Linked DNA regions of Homo sapiens: region 1 is linked to region 2. The links are contacts of gene promoters, found by promoter capture Hi-C in blood cells and fetal thymus (Javierre and others, 2016). All regions are on one chromosome and are shown on one strand. The core of a region is centred on a gene start or on the middle of the fragment in contact, and the rest is flanking DNA. Distances in the headings are between cores, read along the strand shown.

Region 1 (6,269 bases), core at 746-3,245, 98 kb after region 2:
CTGGGAAAAGCTGATTAGAATTACTTTTAAATCTAAACAAGCTAAGAAATCTTGTAACTAAATCAATATGCTAAAGCCATGGGAACTCTGTTCTATATAATGGTGACTTTCAAACTATAATAATTGGCTCCAAGAAGAGACACAACTAAGTTGAACAGTAATCATTTAAGAAAAACAGAAGTGGTCAGTGTAGGGAATAGTGAAGAGCTTCATTTCTGGAGTTAAATATTCCTGGATTCAAATCCTACCTCTAACACTTAGGTATACAATCCTGGGCAACTAGAGAAAGCCAGAATTAACTACTCTGAGCCTTAGAACATAAAGTAAAACCAGCCACATATACTCATGAATACAGTCTCTACTGCCCAATAGTCTAAGATCTAAGTACACTGTCTCCCACCACCTCTGTGAAGCCTCTTTAAGACAGTATTAGACACAAGCTTATGATTAAGCTGCAACAGCTCCTGAAGGTTAGAGTCACCTCCAAAGCTCTACCACTAACAATCCAGGGGGCTAGACCCTAAGGAGAAACAAGAGCTCACCATTCTTCTGCAGTGCTTTGGCTGTAACTTTCTTGGCCAGTATCATAAACTGACTGTCCTCCCCAATTTCTTCTTCTTCTTCAGCTGTAATTTTCCCCTGCTGTGCCTGAAAAAAAAAAAAAATATATATATATATATATATATATATACAGCATTAAAAGTCTATAACCTTCCTAAATAGTTAGCATGGCCTGGATTGTGAAACTAGAGTTCCTGGGGTATTTGTTTTCCTTTTTGCAGCCTTTGCTGCTTTAGACAAAAAAAAATTAATCTTAGACAAACATGAAGAGAACTGTCTATGGTATAGCCTTCTCAAAACACAAAAGATAGCTCAAGGATTAAAAGAGATAGCAATATGTTGCCTAAGATTTTGAAACTATCATGACAAGCTAAGATTTTGAAACTATCATGACAAGCTAAGGGACAGTCTCATAAACTAGGGTCAGAGTAGGTGAACTCCTACCATGTCCCGAAGCCACTGCTCTCGTTCAATTCGCTCCTTCCTCCACCTGGCTTCTGACTCATCAAGCTGTTCTTCAGTCTGATCATCATCAGAGTCTCTGTGGAACAAGTCCATCTGGGAAGCATCATCTAAACAAAGAGTGAAGGTAATCAGCATTCGGCAGTCCTCACAGGAGAGGGTGCTTGGACAGACAAAAAATAAACCCTTATCATTTACTATATAATGATGTAAACTTTTCCCATCCATTAACAGAAAACAGTTACAACTAGGTCTTCACATAGCCTGTTATAGTTTTGCTTGCCATTTGCCATCTGAAACTCGACAAATATGCATTGTAACTGTTTGCTTTTTTTTTTTTTTTTTTGAGATGGAGTCTCGCTCTGTCGCCCAGGCTGGAGTGCAATGGCATGATCTCTGCTCACTGCAACCTCCGTCTCCCGGGTTCACGCAATTCTCCTGCCTCAGCCTCCTGAGTAGCTGGGATTACAGGCGCGTGCCATCACAGCCTGCTAATTTTTGAACTTTTAGTAGGGACGGGGTTTCACCATGTTGTTCAGGCTGGTCCTGAACTCCTGACCTTGTGATCCACCTGCCTCTGCCTCCCAAAGTGTTGGGATTACAGGCGTGAGCCACCATGCTCAGCCCGTAACTGATTGCTTTTAAAGACAACAACCAAGATACCTATGTTTTTCCATCGAAACTTCCTCATTCGCCCAGGACCATCGCTGTGCAGATCCCCATCAGCAAGGTACCTCTCTTGGTATAAACGTAGCTGTCGCTTATCATCATCCAACATAGTTTTCCTGCAACAGGAGAAATAAGGTGTTCAAAACAAGGACCATTCTGGCTGGTTACAGGGCTTGTCTTAAGATGTACCCTATTACTCAGAAGGGCTTATTGGGATACTGACATGTGTATTTTCTTGATTTGACTCTGCAGTTCCTCATCAGAAGGAAGTACTTCATCAATTACGTCCTCTTCATATTCATCAATTTCTTCCCCATCATACTCATCTTCGCTTCCCACATCACTTCCTGACACCTCTGCCTCATCCTCCAGGTATTTCCTCAACCTCCTAGAAAGCAATTTTGAGGATTAGAAAATGCAACAATGAATATACTCACAGAATATGGAAGCAAAGAAAAGCAGAACAGAGTCACTTCTAATAATAATAAACATAATACATTTGATAATATTTAAATTTTTTTGTAATAGTCTCCACTTATGATGGTTTGACTTAATGATTTTTCAACTTTACGATGACATGAATGTGATACGCACTTAGTATGCTTCTCGATTTACGATGGAGTTATATCTGGATAATATGAAAGTGCATTTTCAACTTATGATGGATTGATCAGGATATAGTCCCATTGTAAGATGTGGAGCATCTGTATTTAAAAGTTGATCACTTAATATGTCTTGTGTGCTAATAACTGTGCTTTACAGGCATTAACATATTATCATAGGAATGGGTACTATTATTCTCTTCATTTTACAGTTGAGGGAATTGAGCCTCAGAAAGATTACATTTACCCAAGGTCACATAGCTAGAAGGTAGCAGAGCCTGGATTCAACTTAGATTGGGTGATTTGAAAGCCAGAAAACTCTTAATCTCTTTTACATGTATTAGAATACCTGCTGGAAGGTTCAAACTATTTCATTTTGCATTTGAGCACACCAGCTTTAAGAGACAAACTAGAGATGGTGTGGTGTAGAAAGGTAATAAACTGGGATCTTCTTACAGCCTAACAAATCTTGACCCCCACATCAGAAGGAAGACTAAGGCTCAGAGCTCCTGGTAATCAAAACGACTAGTTACTTCTTATGACTTCAGCTCCCCCGGAGAATAAATCTGGTGTCACCCTGGATTCAAAGTCACCTTGGTCCCATGTGGTCCAAAATGGCAGAAGTTTGGTGGCTTTCTGAAAACTGATTTTTATCGAAGACCTATACTGTATTTTCTCTTTTTTTTTTTTTTTGAGATGAAGTGTCGCTCTGTCGCCTAGGCTGGAGTGCAGAGATGCCATCTCGGCTCACTGCAACCTCCACCTCCTGGGTTCAAGTGATTCTCATGCCTCAACCTCCCGAGTAGCTGGGATTACAGGTGCGTGCCACCATGCCTGGCTAATTTTTGTTTTTTTAGTAGAGATAGGGTTTCACCATGTTGGCCAGGGTGGTCTTGAACTCCTGACCTCAGGGGATCTGTCCATCTCAGCCTCCCAAAGTGCTGGGATTACAGGCATGAGCCACCACGCCCAGCCTATACTGTATTTTCTTAAAGCTAAGTTGTTCTAAATCCTAGAGTTCCTGGAAAATTCCTTCAGAGGCCACTAGTCACTAAGTTTCCCAAACTTCCCACTTACCATCTTTGAACAGTTCAACTTTTATCTGTCATTCTTTAAAAGATTTTATTTGAACAAAGAGCTCTGCAGAGAAGAACCACTACCTTAGAAAAATCTATGGATAACCTAAAGCTGTATGAGAGTTAATTTGATAGGTGATAAATTAGAACCCAAAGTGAATCTTAATAGAATGAAATGATGGGATAAAAGCAACCATATAAATCTAATAGGGATCAATATGATGTCCTATATGTGAATTCCAAATCATTCACATACAATATAATATTAAATACCTATTAGAATTATCTTTATAAAACTTTTTTTAACATCATAGGAAAATGTTTCTGGATATGCTAAGTAGAAAAAAAAAGATGCAAAATTATACATATAGAAAGATTGTACAAATCTCAACTATATAAAAATATATGCATAAAAAAGATTAAGGGGAACAAACTAACTTTCATTTATATCCTGGATGGTGGACATGGATAAGTTTTTATTTATATCTTTCTGTATTCTTTTTTTGCGGGGGTCGGGGAGAATGGAGTTTCTCTCGTCGCCCAGGCTGGAATGCAATGGCACAATCTCAGCTCACTGCACCCTCCACCTCCCGGTTCAAGCGATTCTCCAGCTTTGCCTCCTGAGTAGCTGGGATTACAGGCACTGGCCATCACGCTTGGCTAATTTTGTATTTTTAGTAGAGACGGGGTCTCGCCATGTTGGCCAGGCTGGTCTCGAACTCCTGACCTCAGGTGATCCACCCGCCTCAGCTTCCCAAAGTGCTGAGATTATAGGCGTGGGCCACTGCACCCAGTTTGTATTCTTTTAAATATCCTAAAATAAATATTTTACTTTCATGACCAGAACAGCATATCAAAAAAATGAGTTGGGCCGGCCAGGTGGGGTGGCTCACGCCTGTAATCCCAGCATGTTGGAAGGCCAAGGCGGGTGGATCGTGAGGTCAAGAGATCGAGACCATCCTGACCAACATGGTGAAACCCCGTCTCTACTAAATATACAAAAATTAGCTGGGTGTGGTGGCACGTGCCTATATTCCCAGCTACTCAGGAGGCTGAAGCAGGAGAATCGCTTTGAACCCGGGAGGCGGAGGTTGCAGTGAGCCGAGATCATGCCACTGCCCTCCAGCCTGGGCGACAGAGCGAGACTCCGTCTCAAAAAAAAAAAAAAAAAAAAAAAAAAAAGCTGGGCCTGGTGGCTCATGCCTGTAATCCCAGACTTTGGGAAGCAGAGGCAGGAGGATCACTTGAGGCCAACAGTTTAAGACCAGCCTGGGAACAAAGCAAGGCCCCATCTCTACAAAAAATAGAAAGAATTAGCCAGGTGTGGTGGCACATGCCTGTTGTCCCAGCTACTTGGGAAGCTGAGGCAGGAGGATTTAAGTTAAAAAGTGGCAAACTATTAACTGACTGTTAGGGGAGATTTCACCTAATCTAAGTTGAATCCAGCCTCTGCTGCCTTCTAGCTATGTGATCTTGGGTAAATTTAATCTTTCTGAGGCTCAGTTCCTTCAACTGTAAAATGAGGAGAATAATAGTACCCACTCATAAGATAATTTTTTTGAGATGGAGTCTTGCTCTATCACCCAGGCTGGAGTGCAGTGGGGCAATCTTGGCTCACTGCAACCTCCGCCTCCCATATTCAAGCAATTCTCCTGCCTCAGCCTCCCAAGTAGCTGGCACTACAGGCGCCCAGAACCATGCCTGGCTAATTTTTGTATTTTATTTTGTATTTTGTATTTTTAGTAGAGAGGGTTTCACCATGTTGGTCACGCTGGTCTCAAACTCCTGACCTCAAGTAATATGCCTGCCTTGGCCTCCCAAAGTGCTGGGATTACAGGCGTGAGCCACTGTGCCTGGCATAAGATAATATGTTAATGCCTGTAAAGCACAGTTATTAGCACACAGGACATATTAAGTGATCAACTTTTTTTTTTTTTTTTTTTTTGAGACAGAGTCTCGCTCTGTCACCCAGGCTGAAATGCAGTGGTGCGATCTCGGCTCACTGCAACCTCCACCTCCTGGGTGCAAGCGATTCTCCCTGCCTCAGCTTCCTGAGTAGCTGGGACTACAGGCACCTGTCATCACATCTGGCTAATTTTTATATTTTTTAGTAGAGACAGGGTTTCACCATGTTTGTCAGGATGGTCTCGATCTCTTGACCTGTGTCACCAAGACCAGGCTGGTCTTGAACTCCTGACCTCAGGTGATCCGCCTGCTTCAGCCTCCCAAAATGATGGGATTACAGGCGCAAGCCACCATGCCTGGCCTAGTGACCAAATTTTAAATACACCTGAAGGAATGGACATATTAATAACACGTACATTTGCCTTTTCAACTTCTCAGATCGCTTCAGGAGTTCTTCTTCATCATCATCTTCATGGTCTTCCAGTGCCAGATCATTACCAGAGTCACTGTGTTCATCCTACAAAATCAGCATCATATCCAAATTAAGCAGAATAAAATGCGTCCTCAATGAAAAAAGGATTTATAAACATCTGCCCAAATACCTCATTCTAGGAAATTGTTTCTGATAAGATGCCAAACTTAGAATTCTCAAGAACTGAGGGGAAAAAAACACTTGAGGGCAGCAATACATGGAGCTCAGTTATGATTACTTTGTTCCCTTCATACTCACCTCATCACTATCAAACTCATTATCATTTGAAACAAGCCGAAAGTCTCCAAATTCCTCCTCCTCGTCTTCCTCTTCCCTAAAATGTAAATCAATGAATCAATAAATAAGTTGTTGAAAGCAAACTACAAGTAGTCAGCCAAGTTATGAATTAAAAAAAATTTTGTGTGTGTTAATTTTTTTTTTTTCTCTGAGACAGTCTTGGTCTCTTACACCACCTGGAATACAGTGGCACCATCTCAGCTCACTGTAACCTCCACCTCCAGG
Region 2 (6,224 bases), core at 3,248-5,747:
TAAAGCATTTAAAGGCATTTGAAATGCAAGGAACAGAACGACAGAAGAAACTGAAGGAATCCAGCCAATGGCGATTATCTTTAGGCTCATGATAACAAAGCCCTAAAATGTTTCCACAACTACAAATGTTAGTTATTATATTTATACACATACAAAAGCATATATGAAAAGGACTGGTGCTATAATTAAAATTAAGGAACCATTTCAAGAAAGAATAGAAAATCAACTGAGAATATTAATCACTTTAAAAAGTAAACAAATTCCACTTCCAAAGAAAAAGAGAAAATTAAAATGATTGCCAAAGCAAAAATTCTAGTGAATATTTTGACAGTAAGCTATTTAAAATACCTCACAAAAATCCTAATACTCTAATCTTATCTAGCTGAACCAGAGTCATTCAGATTAGACAGATAAATAAATATTCAGGTTACAGTTATTGCCTAAGGAAGAAAACTCCACATTCAGTCTGCAGCTTCAGAAAAGGCCTAAATCTTCCTATCTCACTTTCACTTTCACTTTTCATTTTTCAAATAGTGCTGAATAATCCTCCCTGGGAGACACGTTTCCTGTTTGAAAGCTTCTGAAATGCCAAAATCCTTTAATAGGATTTAAAGAACAAAATGCTACTGTCAAATACTTTACAAGTGTTTCAGAGTTGTAGATACCAGTAATATGGCTTCTTAGACTTGGAGGGAAAAAACACACAAAATGCACCTGTAGATAATATCAAATTGCCTCAAAACTCCTAAACAAACACACTTTTATTTGTTATGCAGGCTAGATTTAAAGATTGTTAGTTTGCAAACTTGTTAATAAACGAAAAACATTCACTTATATTATCTATGCAAAGAAAAAGGAGCAGAAGGGTATATTCTAAGTGCTTGCCAGTGGTAAGAGTATGGGCAGTTTTCGTTTCCTTCTTTTGCTTGTTGGTTTTTCCTAAAACTTCTATACTTAACATGCCTCACTTTTATAAGAAAGCATTATTCAATAAGTTCGCATTATTTTTATAATAAGAAAAAAGATATTTTTATTTGAAGGGGGAGCTTGTTTACAAAGAACTTATGTCACACTTAGAAGAAAGGCTAAAATCCTAGGCAGTAACCTGTTCAACTTTAAAATTAGCTTAATACAAGGCCAAAAATGTTTTTTAAACACTGAATATGTCCAATGAGTAGCAGAGGGCAACATATTTAATAAAAACACAAGAGATAGATACTTAGAGACCCCTGAGTTGTACAGGAAACTGCCTGTGTAGCTCTGGGGAATTTCTGATTCTTGACGAGGAACTTACGAGATCCACATACATGAAACAAATGGCCAACAAAATGAACAACATTAGCATGTCATACTGTGGAAAACCAACTGAACTAGAATCCAAGAGACCTTGGTTATGATGTGGACTTGGCACTCTGAACTTCGGCAAATTACTTGTCCTCTCTAAGCCCCAGTTTCCAGATGTGTGAAATGTTATTTCCAAATGTGTGAAATGTTAATAATATGACTTACCCCTGTCTAACTCACAAGTGAGAAAAACTAATGAATTCTATACATGTCCAATATTATGATACTCAGTGTTAGATAATGTAGTTCGGATTATACATGCTATAGGAATTCAGAAAAGAGAGAATTCTGTGTGGGCTGGAGTACTCCGAGTAACTTAAAAGCAATTCTACATAGGCCAAGAGAAAAGAGACATGAAATGCGGCATATAAGCAAACCAAAAGTTATACCACTTAATAAGGTGGCAATCCTCAGCAAATGTCTACTCTATAGTATCAAAATGTTTTTACAAAGTGACATACTGGACAATTGATTGGAAGTTGTATTATCATTTTATACTTGGAGAAAGGAGTCCCAGAAGGTTACTATTTTTTCAGCATTCTTGCCTACTCTAAACAAGCTCCATCGTGAAATGAATGATTAGAAAAAAGTCATCAGACGGCTGGGCACGGTGGCTCACGCCTGTAATCCCAGCACTTTGGGAGGCGGAGGCAGGTGGATCACCTGAGGTCAGGAGTTTGAGACCAGCCTGGCCAAACTGGTGAAACCCCGTTTCTACTAAAAATACAAAAATTAGCTGGGCATGGTGACGGGCGCCTGTAATCCCAGCTACTTGGAAGGCCGAGGCAGGAGAATCGCTTGAACCCAGGAGGTGGAGGTTGCAGTGAGCCGAGATCGCGCCATTGCACTCCAGCCTGGGTGACAGAGCGAGACTCTGTCTCAAAAATAAATAAATAAAATAAATAAAAAAGTCATCATACAATACTAAAATTTCTATTATAATTTGTTTTATACCAGAAAAGACTATAGGGAAAATTGGAATGTGCAGAGTGCAACTATTTCCAATTATTTTTCAAGAACTAACTCAAATTCATCTTTCTCCCATACCATAGTTATCTTTCTTTTATTACTCTTAGGATTTGCTCTTGAACTCATTAATTTAAAAACCAACCTACTACTAACTAGTAATACTTCTTTTATTATATAAAATCATCTTGCAGCATTTATTTCCTTGTTTTCTTAATGTCTTGGACTCTTCTATGGGTTATAAGTAATATACTGCATCCCCTATAATGACTAAAAGTACTGTGTACATAAGTAGGCTTAAAGCACATTCTACTTTTCAATGTGATTTCACATACATTTGGGATGAAACAAAAGACCTGTAAAGATAATGATTATTGTTCTACCTAGACATGACTTAATGTTAAAATCACTTGCTTGTCAAAGACCTTAGTATTCAAAATAATGGACAAATTTACTCTCAAAACAAATTCACTCCTTTGGAAGGACTGGCTTACAAACAAAACTTCTACAAACTAATCATAGAATTTCATAAAGTATAAGGTGCTATGTTAAGTGATTTACATTAATTCATTAACCTTTTGAGATAGGTGCTATTACATTACCACCTTATAGATGTTAGCTCTAGGGCACGGAGTTAGAGAAATTTGCTTAAGGTCACAAGTGGCAGAACCTGGGTTCAACCTATGCAGTGAGTCCAGACATTTTGCCCCTAAGTACTATAATATACTATACTATACTATACTATACTATACTATACTATACTATCTATACTAAATTACTCAATACATAATTTTAAGAAGATTTTGGTTGTTTTTCTGCAGAATCTAAGTTTGTTTTCCTTAACTGATCAAAGACGTGCTACTGTTGAAAAAGTATTAAGCTTTGGTTCAGATGACTTAATGGTCATTTGACAAATATGTTTGGGCACCTACGTACACTTAGTATTATTAAGTACCTGCCTAGTGCTAAGGATTTGCACATAACTCATTTACTAAATCCTCCCGACAAGTTTGTGAGTTTGGTATTGCTAATCTTAAAGATGAGGAAATCTGGGCACTGCAAAATAACTTATACAAACTCATAAGGCAAATAAATGACAGGGCTCCAATCTCTTAACTCCATTAACTACTTAAATATAAGGAAAACCTGGCAGCCATTGCTCTGGAAAACTGGAAAAGAAGAATCGGGAGCCACGGGAAGAAGGAAAATGCCAAGCTTCTGGTCCCACAGTCTCACTCTCCCCAGGATCCCACCTTATGCCGCCAACAAACTAACCTCATTACTAGCGACACCAGGAAACTTATCAGAGATTCGGGGATCTAGAGAGCCAGTCCCACAGTCTCACTCTCCTCAGGATCCCACCTTATGCCGCCAACAAACTAACCTCATTACTAGCGACACCAGGAAACTTATCAGAGATTCGGGGATCTAGAGAGCCAGGCTCTGGGCAGGCGCTTAAACATTTATAAACTGATTCCCTTTAGGCAACTCTCACCAAGCAAGAAGCATTTAGCGAAGGCCAGAGCAGAGCACTGACCCAGGAGCCCTGGAGGAGCAAATGCCAAGGTCCCAGACCTGTCTGCCTGTTTCGCCTGTAATCCCAGCACTTTGGAAGGCCGAGACGGGCGGATCTCCTGAGGTCGGGAGTTCGAGACCAGCCTGACCAATATGGAGAAATCCACATCTCTACTAATAATACAAAAATTAGCCAGGCGTGGTGGCGCATATCTGTTCCCAGCTACTCGGGAGGCTGAGGCACGAGAATCGCTTGAACCCGGGAGACAAAGACTGTGCTAAGCCGAGATCGCGCCATTGCACTCCGGCCTGGACAACAAGAGCGAAACCCCTCTCGAAAAAATAAATAAATAAATAAAATAAGTACGGGCAGGGCAGGCCGGCTTCCATCTCTCAGATCCTCCCTGGTACTTATTCAACCCCCGACAAACTCCTTCTGGCCGCTCCTACACCCCAGGCCTGGCCGGGCCTCCCCTGCTTCCTCTCACCGTCCTTCATCTGGACAATATTGCTGGCGGCCACCCGGTCGGAGGCGACAAGAACATAGTCGGGGCCTTGGATACCGATGAGGTACTCCATGGTGGCGGAAGGCCAGGGGCTGCAGGTCCGACACAGCACGAGACTCGCCCGCTTCCAGGTCTCACCGGTGAGACAGCACCTCAGAGCGAAGATTGGCGCGACGCCTGCAGCACGACTTCCACGGCGCTCTCGGATGACGTACAACTGTCGCGAGAGGTTGCAAAGCGGGCGCGGCGCCGGGTGCCTTATGTTCAGTGCTTGTCTCTGGGATCGTACGGGTCTCCTCCGGAGCAGGCTGTGCAGGTCACTTGCCTTATGTGACGCCCAGTTTCTCTGTTTACACACTAAGATTTTAAAAGTGGCTTTAGGATAAAATCACGCAGTGTATGTAAGGTGCCGAGCACGTGTGGGTGTCAAAAAGGGGTAGGTAGCCAGGCAGCCGTTTCCCTACGTTGCTCGGTAAAATCTCCCCAGAAACCCCTTTCCTGCAAGCCAGATTGGAGAAAAATTAACTTGAGGGGAGCCTTACTTCCATCCTTCACAAAAATAGTATATGGTTGGATTAAAGATATAAGCATGGCCGGGCGCAGTGGCTCACGCCTGTAATCCCAGCACTTTGGGAGGCCAAGGCAGGCGGATCACCTGAGCTTGGGAGTTCGAGACCAGCCTGACCAATATGGAGAAACCCCGTCTCTACTAAAAATACAAAATTAGCTGGGCGTGGTGGCGCATGCCTGTAATCCCAGCTACTCTGGAGGCTGAGACAGAGAATCGCTTGATCCCTGGAGGCGGAGGTTGCGGTGAGCACTCCAGCCTGGGCAACAAAAGCGAAACTCCGTCTCAAAAAAAAAAAAAAAAAAAAAAAAAAAAAAAAAAAAAAAAAAAAGAGAGGGAGAGAGATACAAACATGGAAGAAAAAGTAGAAAAATATTTCTGTAATTTTTGGAAGAGATGTGTTTCTAAGCTTGACAGGGAACCCAGAAGCAATATGAGAAAAGACTTGACAGATTTGACTACCTAAAATTACACGTCTCTATGTGGTGAAAGTCATTATCATGCTCAACAGTAAATGTAAATTGGGAATGTTTCAATTGTAGAAATAGTTACTATTTTGGACCTTATAGACAGAAGAAAGGAAAAAGTTAATATCTATAACTTAAAAGATATTCCTACAAACCAATGGGAGGGGAGCCGGGTGAGACAATACCATTTTTAAAAGACCCGGCAGGGCACGGGGGCGGATCAAGAGGTCGGGAGTTCGAGAACAGCCTGGCCAATATGGTGAAACCCCGTCCCTACTAAAAATACAAAAAATTAGTTGGGCGTGGTGGCAGGCGCCTGTACTACTCCGGAGGCTGAAGCAGGAGAATTGCTTGAACCTAGGAGGCGGAGATTGCAGTGAGCCGAGATAGCGCCCCTCCACTCCAGCCTGTGCAACAGAGAGACTCCATCTCAAAAAAAAAAATAAAAAATAAAAAAAGACCAAAGACTAAGAAAAACAATTCACAAAAGAAGCAACACGAATGGCCAATAAACATGAAAAGATCCTCAACCTTGATGGTAATTAGGAAAATGGGAAATAAGAAACAATGAGAAAGTATAAATTGGGGGTAAGGTTCTAAGTTGTACAACCTTTTTATAGAGAACAATTTTAATATCTGTTAAATATGCATAACCTTTTGAATATGTCCAAAAGAAATGTTTGGACACACAGTCCAAATATTTGTGTACCGAGATACTCAGTGTTGCCAGGGGCAGTGGCTCACGCCAGTAATCCTAGCACTTTGGGAGGCCAAGACGAGCGGATCACGAGTTCAGGAGTTCGAGACCAGCCTGGCCAACATGATGAAACCCCGTCTCTACTAAAAATACCAAAATTA

What was found. The method cuts DNA at HindIII sites, captures the fragments that hold promoters and counts their contacts. A CHiCAGO score of 5 or more calls a contact.
Region 1: the fragment with the promoter of CLSPN-AS1 here is called in contact with the fragment with the promoter of PSMB2 in region 2 in 2 of 17 cell types (M1 macrophages and erythroblasts); the score reaches 6.7 in M1 macrophages.

What each region holds. Positions count from the first base shown.
Region 1 is chr1:35,737,450-35,743,718 of GRCh38, forward strand. CLSPN-AS1 (CLSPN antisense RNA 1) reads left to right here and starts at 1,996. Exons shown (of 2, transcript NR_199043.1): 1 at 1,996-2,064; 2 at 5,714-6,127. CLSPN (claspin) reads right to left here. Exons shown (of 25, transcript NM_022111.4): 17 at 6,006-6,081; 18 at 5,692-5,792; 19 at 1,916-2,080; 20 at 1,687-1,808; 21 at 1,006-1,133; 22 at 543-648. RefSeq lists enhancers at 845-1,346, 1,090-2,289. The HindIII fragment of the contact is 7,776 bases long and covers 439-6,269 here.
Region 2 is chr1:35,637,029-35,643,252 of GRCh38, forward strand. PSMB2 (proteasome 20S subunit beta 2) reads right to left here and starts at 4,498. Exons shown (of 6, transcript NM_002794.5): 1 at 4,314-4,498. The coding sequence starts at 4,404. RefSeq lists enhancers at 3,473-4,438, 4,227-4,686, 4,439-5,403. The HindIII fragment of the contact is 1,783 bases long and covers 3,524-5,306 here.